4 separate regions of the Homo sapiens genome follow, and regions 2, 3 and 4 are each linked to region 1. The links are contacts of gene promoters, found by promoter capture Hi-C in human tissues and cell types (Jung and others, 2019). All regions are on one chromosome and are shown on one strand. Each heading gives the region's core, a stretch centred on a gene start or on the middle of the fragment in contact. The rest is flanking DNA. Distances are from core to core; before and after follow the strand shown.

Region 1 (2,700 bases), core at 122-2,621:
CTTTCGTGTGTGTATACCTGTATGTCTCCAACAGGGCCGCACCCAAGGGAGCAGGCTGGTTCCTGTCTGCATGCATCTGTGCATGTGTGTGTGCATATGTTCAAACGAATATTCGTGTGTTTGGTATGTGCAGGTATATGCTTTTGTTTGTGGAGCTGTAGGGGTGTACGCAGGTGCATTTGGGGATAGTACTGTGGTCTATATATAGATACATGTCGTGTGCGCCTGTGCCTGCGCCTTTGTTCGTGGGAAGGGGGGCTGTGGGCATGTGGTGTGCCTGCCTATATACGTGTGCGTGTCTATGCGTGTGTGCGGGGGGAGGAGACTCCGACCTCAGCGATTTCCCCTTCTTCTTTCCTCCCAAAAATGCAGCTGTGAATCCGTTCCAGAGTCCAAGACCAAACCGTGCCCTCCAATCCTGATTTTCTTTCTTTCTCATCGCTTCCTGCTCCCTCCCCCCATTTCCTTCACTTTTGCAGTGTCTCCGGACAGGTGTCTCAGACCGAACTTCAGCCTAGCGGTCTTGCAGCTGGTGCCGTTGGGAGGGAGCGTGGGTTAGGGCGGAAAACACCGCCTGGGGGCGTAGGTCCCCGCGCAGGGCTGGGAGGGATGGAGAAAGGGAGATTCCTGGGTACAGGAGGGGGTCTCCAGGCCGAGATCACCGGGCGACTGTCGGGGGCAGAGCCCGGCACGCTGAGCTGGGAGGGGGGAGGACAGGCAGAACTGGGAATCCCGCGCTTACCTGGATGGCGTTGGTCACGTTCCAGCCTGCCTCCCACGCCGTGATTTTGGGCTTGTCGTGGCCCCCGAATTCGCCACCACCTCCCACCTGGTCCTTGGAGCCGGAGGGCGGCAGAGGAGCTCCGCTGCCTCGCTGATAATGGATGTCTCCCTCGACGGGCGCTTCAGCGCCCTCGTCCCCGCAGGGCTCTCCCTCGGCTTTCAGGATGTCCATCTGCAGGCCCTGGCGGTGCTCAAAGTCGAGGTCGTCGCAATGCGCGAAGCCCACCGCCTCCTCATCCGTGGCCGCCTGAAAACCCATCCTGGCGAACATGCCGCTCATCTTGGCCTGGGACTTGTTGGACACGGACGTGGCCACGTTGGACAGCTTGCTGCGGAGCAAGGTGGCCATGGCGGCGGTGGGGACAGCGGAAAGGACAGAAGGACCCGAGGATGCGGGGAACGCGATGCAAGAAGGCGAGGGCTGGGGGGCGCAAAGTCGCTATCTCCGCTTGCTCTCCGCGCGGCGCCCCGGGGCTCTCTGGCTCATGACCCTCGCAGCTGGCGTTCGAGGCTCTCTCAGGGCTGGACCGGGCAAGCTGGCAGCAGGTCTGGCGGAGCGGCGGCGGCGGCGGTGGTGGCTAGTGCACTGCGGAGCTGCCGCGGGGCGCGAGCTGGGCTGCGGAGGGCGGCGGCGGCGGCGGCGGCGGCAGCGGCGTCAGAGCAGCTACGCGAAGCTGGCGCGGCGCCCCCACCCGTGCGCAGCCCAATGCGCTCCCGCCCCTCGGAATCAGGCGGTGCGGGGGTGGGGGATTGGAGAGAGGAAATACCCGGAGGCAGGGGACGTGAGGAAGGGGCTAGGAGAAGAGAAAGGGGGCGCCGAGGGATTCAGACGTGAGCTGGGGGCAGAAGAAGGGCGCCCTTGGGAAGGAGGCGGGAGGGAGCGCGTGAAAGAGGGAGCGCCGAGGGCAGGGGAGGTGGGGGGGCGAAGTGCTGCATTTCTAGGGGAGGTGCTAAGCTCGCATCCTGGCCCTTCCCACCTCGCCGCCGCAGGGTGGGAGGGGGCCGGCGTGGGCTGATGCTCGCAGTCTCCCACCCCCGGACCACCCCCTCCAGGGTCCGGGAGCTGTGCAGCCCCAGATCCTCTGGCTAAGGACTGGTCTGGGCGCCCCGAAAGCCCGCAGGACTGAGTTGTCAGTCTCTCGCGGAGCGGGTCGTCTATAAGTCAGTTTCCCTGGCACCCATCCTTCGCGCGTAAACCCGGCCGCGAGTCCCCCTTGAAGGTAGAAGTGGCTGGCATGGATCGCTCCCAAGGAAGCTCAGCCTCAGGCTCAGTCACCCGGGTTCTCTCCGCCCGTCCAGGGACGCCGCGAGGGAAGCGATTGTGCGGATCGCTCGCCACCAGCCGCTCTCCAAATGCGTGCAGAATGGAGGCGAAAGGTTGGCTTTTCTCTTTCTTTTCGTTTGGGGGTCTGGAAGAAGGCAGGACTCTATGAGGACACCTCTCGTCAGCCTCCTAGCGGGTCTGCGAATGCCCACGCCGAGAGGGGCGCAGACGGGGCCAGGCGCGGAGGAAAGAAGGGCTCGCGGCGCTGCAAGGCGGAGGAAGCAGAGGCTCGCGGTGCGCTGGGGCCCTGCTCCGACGGCCGCCTCCAGGCTGTGAAAGCTTGGGCTGTTTGTGTTGATTGGGGTACGGGTGTGTGAGCGCGAGTAAGGGAGAGACCCAGAGACAAAGACCGATGCTGTATCAGACTCTGCTTGAGGTTGGATCAGTGTGGCCTCTGAGAATGAGGTTTGGTAACCGCGTGTGTTCTGTGTCTGTGTGGTTTTGCGCGCATTCCAGTGTGTGTGCCAGAGCTAGTGTGTTGGATTACGTATGTGTTCCCGAATGGGGTTGCCTGCGTTCGTGCCTGTGTTAGTCCCTTTGTAGTAGTCTCCGTGAGGGTCCGCTGCTCTGAATGGGTCCCTGCGTAAGTCCCC
Region 2 (2,721 bases), core at 40-2,539, 220 kb before region 1:
ACCAGAAGTAGGTTTCAAACAGAGATCATAGAACACAGTCAACTCTGTCTCCTGTAACCAAGATATGGCTAATGCAAAGTCCCCCTGAAAACTGCCTTCAAAGCCTGAGAAGGAAGATTCTTTTGAAAGCCTTCAATGAGGCTGGGCCGGGCGCAGTGGCTCACACCTGTAACCCCAGCACTTTGGTAGGCCGAGGCCAGCGGATCACCTGAGGTCAGGAGTCTGAGACCATCCTGGCCAACGTGGCGAAACACCATCTCTACTAAAAATACAAAAATTAGCCAGTCATGGTGGCATGCCTGTAGTCCCAGCTACTCGGGAGGCTGAGGCACAGGAATCGCTTGAATCTGAGAGGCAGAAGTTGAAATGAGCTAAGATGGCGCCACTGCACTCCAGCCTGAGCAACAGAGCAAGACTCCATCACGAAAAAAAAAAAAAAGAAAGCCTTCAATGAGATAATGTAAATAAAGCACCTATCCAACACCAAGATTATAAAACCTCCTCAACAAATGGAAGCTATCATCGTCATCAATTTCATTTGGAGAGGGTAGTTTTTATATTTTAGAACAGCAAAAGTCCATTTGTAGCTAAGTTTGGTTAATATAGATAAATCCTACTTAGGTTAAAAACAAATTTTTTTAATAAACTTCTTACAAAAGGAAATTCCAAGAAAAAGAGTTCAATTTGTTTTTTCCCACAGCCTCTTTGGTGAAGAAAGTTCAAATTTTGTTCTGAGCAATGAGGGTACTGTTGAAAAAGAAAGGTGTCAAGATTTTCTTGATCTTACTGCCTCATTTTCCACAAGCCTTCACATTTCTACCTTTACCCAGGGCTGACACGTAATTATCACTCAGGGTTGTGTGTTTCTTCAAAAATGGGGTTTTCTTTTTAAAATTCTACAGACACACCTCATGCAAACCATCAGACAATCTACCGCAGAGGCGGCAGAACATACAACCATTGGAGCCACATATGTACAAATGGCACAAATTCTAGAGATTCATGTAAACCGCTCATTATCCCCACCCTCTCTTCAACCTTCCTGCTCTCTACCTTAAGATGCCATTGCCAATGTGACACTTCAAAGGTGGGTCAGAAACATAATCAGTATTTTCTAGACTAAAGCTCTAAATTACAAGGCTTGAAGCAACGTGGAGGATTTGAGTCTAAAGCTGACAGCTCTGGCTCTGCCTTCAACACTAATGGAGATGCCTGCAACTGCCCCTACCTTCAAGTGAGCAGGGCAAGCTGGGTCCAGATCCCTAAGGAACCAGGATTCCAGACTGTGTGTTGCTGTTAACCCCCAGTTCGTCCCCTGCAGACCTGGGCCAAGGCTTGAAATCTAGGACTTGCTGACTGTGTTGTCTCAATACAAGTTCAACTTCTGCATTTTAATCTATGGACTACAGGACAGGGGAAGTGACCCCCACCCAAACTGCCTCTAACAGGAGGCTTTGATAACCAGCTGCTATACACAGATGCACGCATATCAGAATGCATGGCCATACAGGCTCCCATTGAGAGGAAAAGGCTTTTACCTTTACATGACATGCTTCTTCTGAAGAGTTTAGATTAATAAGCCTTGGACGGGTTAGAGACTTACCTGTAGGAGCCTGTTGCCACGCGGATGCCATCAATCAACGTGAACTTTTCGTGAACCTTCCCAATAATCTTAGTTCCTGACCTTGCATAGTAGATATTTCCTGTGATAGTCCGAACTGTCATTAACTGTTGGCAGGGAGTGGGAGAAATATAAATGAACAATTCAGCAATACTCATCTGCTGAGCAAATGGTTAGGACAAAAAGCCTTAGTTTACAATTCCCAGATATAATTATTGGCATATGCGTGGCTTAGGGTCACCATTTAGTGACAGTATACATGGTACACTAGCCAGACAGTTCTCAAGCCTCAAGTGATGTTACTTCTACATTTGGTCCATCTTCTCATCTGTTCTTTTCTTATATTTACTTTTGAGACCCTTAGTTCATGCGTGTATGTGTTCTAAAAGAACACTCAACCTTTTTGGGATACTAAACAACAGAATCCAAGAAATGATTCTGAAGCAAAATGTGTGGGATAAAATCATCAAAGAAAACATGCTAGTAATAAAGAACATTTTAGCAAAGTCTGAAAGAAGGTAAGCTGATCTTCCTCCAACTTGTTTGTTTAATGGCATCACATTAGAGTAACAGTCCATCCTCACTCACCCTCAACACCATAATGGGTATGGAGAATAGGAACACAGGACAGGCCTTCTCTAGTACAGGCCTGCTGAGGCAGAAACACTCATATCACATGTGGCTTAACAAGCAATGTCACATCTCCTACAAATACATAATTACCAAAAACGTACACTGGTAGTGGTATGCTGGGGCAATATACTGCACATGTATGCATAATTATTCCTGTAAAATGACACACATAAATGTATAAACAATGGCATACAAAATACTACAACAATCTGCATTCTCTGGAGCAGACCAGTGGCTCTATATCGTTAGAAATCTTACACATTTAAATTAAACGTGTAAGATTTTTGTTTGACTCATTGATTCCATAAACATAGAGAGCCCCTACTATGTGCCAAGCCGTGAGACAACAGAGATGTAAGGCATGCTCCTTACCTTCAAGGACTAGAATAAGAGAGAGAAAACTAATTGATTTAGAAACTACAGTAACACATAACAGCATCCAGAGAAATGAAAACCTATATCCACAC
Region 3 (2,700 bases), core at 11-2,510, 150 kb before region 1:
GGGCTACAGCAGTGAACCAGACAGACGCCAGTCTGCCCTCTCAGAGCTTGCAATCTGCTTCCCTAGTCTGGAATGCCCTTCCCTCCTTCCTCCAAGCAGAGTCTCTGCCCAGCCGTCACACCCAGTGCAGGAGGCATTCAATAAACATTAGGTGAACAGTAAGTGAGCAAATGATTAAATGACTGAAGGCACCACCCGGTGAAGTCTTCCTTGACTCTGACTTAAGTGCCCTCAGCAGGCTCTGTGCACCTCAGTCAGAGTGCCTGCCACCCTCCACGGTGTCCAGGGCTGGGGAGCACTTGAAATGTGCATAATCCAGATTGAGACGTGCTAGGGGTGACCTTGAAGATTTAGTGTGAAAAAGATATGTAACATACCCATTAATATTTTTATACTAAATACATATTGAAATAATGTTGAGTTAAATAATTATTCAAATTAATTTCACCTGTTCCTTGCCTGCTTTACTGGAACTATTAGAACATTTAAAATTACATATGTGGCTTACATTATTTTTCCATTGATCAGAGCTGAGCTAGATTGTAAATACTTAGTTACATTACCATGGGCACACCTGCACCCACAGTCACATGACGATGAGCTCTGTGAGGGTATCTCTGCCCATTTATCTTCCCTCCGTCCCTCCCTCTGTTCCTTCCCCTTTCTTTCCCTCCCTCCCTCCTTCCTTCCCTCCCTCCCTCCCTTCCCCTTTCTTTGCCTCCCTCCTTCCTTCCTTCCCTCCCTCCTTCCTTCCCTCCCTCCCTCCCTCCCTTCGTTCCTCTCTTCCTTACTCTCTACCTCCCTACACTCCTCCTTCTCAATCCTTCCCTTTCATCCCCCTTCTCTCTCCTTCTTCCCACAGACATTGATTGAACATCTGTTCTTGTATCCCTCCATGAAGCTTGGCACAAAGCAGGTGTCCACAATGTTTGCTGAATGAATAAACCAATCCTCAGAATGCATACTGGCCCAGAGGTGACCCTGAGGGCATTTGCCTCCTATTGAATTCCCCATACCTGCTTGTTTGAGTGCAGGTTTCCCATTTCATTTCAAAAGGAGCCAAATTCCAAAGATGTTCTTATGTAACATGGGGCTGGGGTCAGTTTTCTTCTTGCATACGGGGTTCATGTGCGCTCAGGTACTGGGGCCAGGACTCTGTGTACAGGACACCTTGTTCTCAAAGCTCCAGGAGGTTGGCCAGGGCGTGGGCTTGAGCTTGCGGCTTTAGGGTCAAGCTCTCTAGTGAGAGGAGGGCACCAGGCTGAGCTATGTGCTGCCTCACCCACACCTCCGAGGTCCTGGGATGATGAGGGTACACACGGGTCAGGGAGATGCAGGCATCCGAGCCCTGTTTAAAGGTGCAGCTGCGGTAAACTGGGGCCCAGGTGTGAATCACTGCAGGACTGCAGTAAACTGGGGACTGGGTGTGAATCACTGCAGGAATTACATGCCTGCTTCCTGATAAGTCTCCGTCACAGCTGCCACTAACCACGCCCCAACCCTCCAGCCCTCCAGTTTGAGAGGCTGCAAGACACTAGAATGAGCCACAATATCCCAGCCGAGCTGCCTCTTGGAGCTGAGAACGCAGCAAGGAAATTGGCCCAGAGTCTGGCCCTTCATGTCTCCGGTCCTGCTTGCAGCTAAGACAAAGTTGTGGCCCCTACAGTATGGGCCATCAGCCAGCAGGAGCATCCCTGTCCCTTCCCTTCCCACTGTTTCACACCTTCCTAACTTTGCACTGAACCACCAGAGGCTTTCACTGCCCCAGGGCCCCTGCTTGTGCTATTTTGTTCTGCCTAGAACACTCTCCTCTAGCCCAGCCTCCCCATCCTTCTGCATGGCTGGCTCAGTTCTCATCCTTCAGGTCTCTTAAGTGTCACCTCCTCAGAGGGACCCACCTGACTGGCCTTCCTATACACACACTGTCCCTCTGTTCCCTATCAAAGCACCTTGCTTACTCCTTCACAGCATTTAGTCAGACTTTTAAATGGTAGGTTATGTGTATGTGGACTTGTAGTTTCCCCCTATAGTTTATAAACCCTACAAGGACAGGGACCTTTTCTATTTACTTATAAATGAGTCCTGGCACACCACAGGTGCTCAATAAATTTTTGCTCTGCAGGCCGGGCGTGGTTGCTCACACCTGTAATCCCAGCACTTTGGGAGGCCAAGGCGGGTGGATCACTTGAGGTGAATCACTTGAGGTCAGGAATTCAAGACCAGCCTGGCCAACATGGTGAGACCCCATCTCTACTAAAAATACAAAAATTAGTCAGGCATGTTGGTGGGCACCTGTAATCCCAGCTACTCAGGAGGCTGAGGAAGGAGAATTGCTTGAACCCAGGAGGTGGAGGTTGCAGTGAGCTGGGATCGCGTCACTGTGTTCCAGCCTGGGCGACAGAGAGAGACCGTGTCTTAAAAAAAAAAAAAAATAAATAAATAAAATTTTTGCTCTGCAGTGAAGGCAGGCAGACAGGTCCATCTTTATGTGGCAGCGGGATGGGGGTGGGGCAGGGATTTGCAGGGGAGGGGGTTAATGAACTGCCACTTTTGCCTTAAGGAATCCTATCTTCCCCTTTAATATATTCCATAGGCCAGGACATGACTTTCCAGGCCCTCAAACCACACATCTAAAAAATCTTCGCATATAAGTTGAGCAAATGAAGGCTCACACAGGGTCCATACTATGTGATTCCACTT
Region 4 (2,758 bases), core at 207-2,706, 240 kb before region 1:
CCAGGAGGCAGGGGTTGCAGTGAGCCAAGATCGGGCCCCTGCACTCCAGCCTGGGCGACAGAGCAAGACTCTGTCTCCAAAAAAAAAGAAAAAAGAAACGAGATGGCAGTCCCACTGGGCTCCAAATTGGCCACTCAGAACTGTGTATTACAGAGCACAGTGTCTTTACTTCTGGCCTCCATGTCCATGTTATTACTGAATTCTTAACAGAAGTGAAAGAAACCCAGTGGGAATTAGCTGAGGTAAAAGGATGAATCTTGTTACTGTAGGATGGCAATAAGGCTCAGAGATGACAGAAACTGGGCACTCAAAGCAGCCATGGCTTTCTCCTTCTCTCATCTTGGCACGTCTTGCAGGTTCCTTCCAGCCCCTTAGGTTGGCTACTGTACAGGAGCTGGAAAGACGGCTGCCGGCAGTGCCAGGGTTCACGCTTACAACTCCTCTACCAATCATTCATCGTGGTCCAGCAAGGACCAGCAAGGATGGACCAAGGGCCCACTCCATGTCACGTACCACTCTAAGCACTAGAAACACTGCAGTGAACAATACAGATGCCAGCCCTACCCTCACGGAGCTCACTTGCTTTTTTAATTCTTCCTCTCAGTGGAAAGTAACTTGGTGCATGAAGTGGTCATAAGTGCTATGGAGAGAAATAAAGACAACGTAAGGGGGACTGGGAGTCCCAGGTATGTGTTGTAATGGGGGGTGGGGGAGGCTCTTTTATACTGGACAGACAGGGACTGACTTCTCCCAGCTTAGGTCCAATCCCCACCCCAATACAATCAACCATGGCCAGTGGAATGGGATGAGGTAAATGACAGTCCCCATTGGAACCATGGAATCGGGAGTGGATAGATGGGAAATGCTATTCTCAGTAACCGCCATGCTGGGCAGATTAAACAAGAGATCTTCACCCCGGCTTCTTGCTAATAACAATGACAAACTGGTGATCATGATGGTGAAGAATAGGGAAGCCATATCCCATCATGAAAACCTGTTGAAGGTTCCATACAGTTTTAGCTCAAACAGAAAAACAACTCAGGAGAAACATAACTTTAAATTTTGTGAGCAGCTTCCATAACTTTTCATGCTGATTTGCTGCTGTAACTCTAGGACAGAACTAGGAGTAATAAGTAAATGACACAGGGTTCAGAATTCAACTCAATGTAAGGAAGATATTTCCAAAAGGTCACACTTTTCAGCACTGGAGTTTGCTGCCTTGTAAATGAATAAAAATCCTCCCTAGATCAAACACATGCTATACAGCCTCCTGCTGGGGCACTACAGTGATAATAACCAATAACCATCATCTCCTAGGTCTTCTGAACTCAGAATCTGTGATGCTAAGTGAAAGCACAGGAGCTTTGTAACAAGAATATTCAGCTCAGTGACTTACTTTTACACTTTTTAGGGTTCTCAGATTGCTTCAACAATCTGATAAAGGCTATGAACTCCCTCTCCTAAAAAACACACCAGAATTTACCAGAATATAAAATTCGGGGGGGTCCGTAGACCCCCTAGAGCTAAGTTTAGAATCACTGCTTTAGATCTCTGACCCTTTTCCATTTACTTCCAGGAACAGAGTTGTGTTTCAGAGGTTCAAGATGGCCAAAAATCAGGTAAGTGGGGCACTGTCATGTTGCTTTTGCCAAAATGTTGACCTTCCTTTCAACAAGACAAAAGATGGAACAGGACCTGGAACAATGCCTGTCCTCAAAGAGACAGGCTTTCTTTCCTTCCCTTCTTGTCACTACATCTTAATAATTCCTTGTAATTGTTACTCAAGAAAACAATGACAAAGAATACCTTATCCTTTTCTGCTGTGTTTTTGTCCTGAATTCCTGCCTTTTCAAATCATGTTTTAAACCTTCATATCCTCTCTGGAATATTTTAACATGTCTTTTGTACTACCGTATTCCTCCCTTGTCTCTAACCTACAGCCCCAATCTATCTCTTCTATTATCAGCTTTTGTTTTTGGAGATGGAGTCTCTGTTGCTCAGGCTGGAGTGCAGTGGCGAGATGCCAGCTCACTGCAACCTCCGCCTTCCAGGTTCAAGCGACTCTCCTGCCTGGGCATCCCGAGTAGCTGGGATTACAGGCACGCACCACCGCACCCAGCTCATTTTGTATTTTTAGTAGAGACAGGGTCACACCATGTTAGCCAGGCTGGTGTCGAACTTCTGACCTCTGGTGATCCACCCACCTCGACCTCCCGAAGTGCTAGGATTATAGGCATGAGCCACCACGCCCAGCTGAGCTCTTTTATAAGAACAGCTATGTCAGTTGATAAACAGTATACCTTCTCCTCATAAAAGACTTCCTTCAACCAAACCAGAACATCAGGGCTGCTTTCCCTCTATAAACACCCCTCTGTGGCTGCCTATGATTGATTTTTCCTTGAGCGTACGCTCTATGCTTAAGGGAGTAACAACTTTATAACTTTTGCAAACTATGAACATCTTCATTTCCCTATCTTAACAAGGCTGATATCCCTAATTCCTCATTCCCTTTAACTTGGTTTTTAAAAATTTTACTGGTGACCCATTAGTGGGTTATGAAATCAATGTAGTATGTCATACCAGCACTTTTTAAATAATGAAATAGAATAGAAAGCATCAGAGCACATTCCAGAAAGCAATACTGTTTATGAACAACTTTTTCTTCAGTTGTGTATGTGTGCTATATCTTACTGTGGGTCAAGTCAAAAAAAGCTTAAAACCTATTGTAAAGTTTTCGTCATGCACATGGTCAACAATC

Evidence for each region. The method cuts DNA at HindIII sites, captures the fragments that hold promoters and counts their contacts. A contact is called where the count stands out against the background at its distance.
Region 2: a contact is called between a fragment that was not itself captured here and the fragment with the promoter of SLC32A1 in region 1, in 2 of the 25 tissues and cell types used here (dorsolateral prefrontal cortex and mesendoderm cells).
Region 3: a fragment that was not itself captured here is called in contact with the fragment with the promoter of SLC32A1 in region 1 in 1 of the 25 tissues and cell types used here (lymphoblastoid cells).
Region 4: a fragment that was not itself captured here is called in contact with the fragment with the promoter of SLC32A1 in region 1 in 1 of the 25 tissues and cell types used here (dorsolateral prefrontal cortex).

Annotation. Positions count from the first base shown.
Region 1 is chr20:38,723,157-38,725,856 of GRCh38, reverse strand. It overlaps SLC32A1 (solute carrier family 32 member 1), which reads right to left and starts at 1,371. Exons shown (of 2, transcript NM_080552.3): 1 at 743-1,371. The coding sequence starts at 1,132. The HindIII fragment of the contact is 7,924 bases long and covers 1-2,700 here.
Region 2 is chr20:38,946,883-38,949,603 of GRCh38, reverse strand. FAM83D (family with sequence similarity 83 member D) reads right to left here. Exons shown (of 4, transcript NM_030919.3): 3 at 1,604-1,728. Among named protein-coding and RNA genes, the nearest start is that of DHX35, 14 kb to the left of the region's middle. The HindIII fragment of the contact is 4,328 bases long and covers 1-2,721 here.
Region 3 is chr20:38,869,659-38,872,358 of GRCh38, reverse strand. The region is part of intron 2 of PPP1R16B (protein phosphatase 1 regulatory subunit 16B); the gene reads right to left. Among named protein-coding and RNA genes, the nearest start is that of FAM83D, 55 kb to the left of the region's middle. RefSeq lists enhancers at 1,020-1,109, 1,130-1,189, 1,318-1,888. The HindIII fragment of the contact is 7,641 bases long and covers 1-2,700 here.
Region 4 is chr20:38,965,885-38,968,642 of GRCh38, reverse strand. The region is part of intron 1 of DHX35 (DEAH-box helicase 35); the gene reads right to left. Among named protein-coding and RNA genes, the nearest start is that of DHX35, 4.9 kb to the right of the region's middle. The HindIII fragment of the contact is 5,080 bases long and covers 1-2,758 here.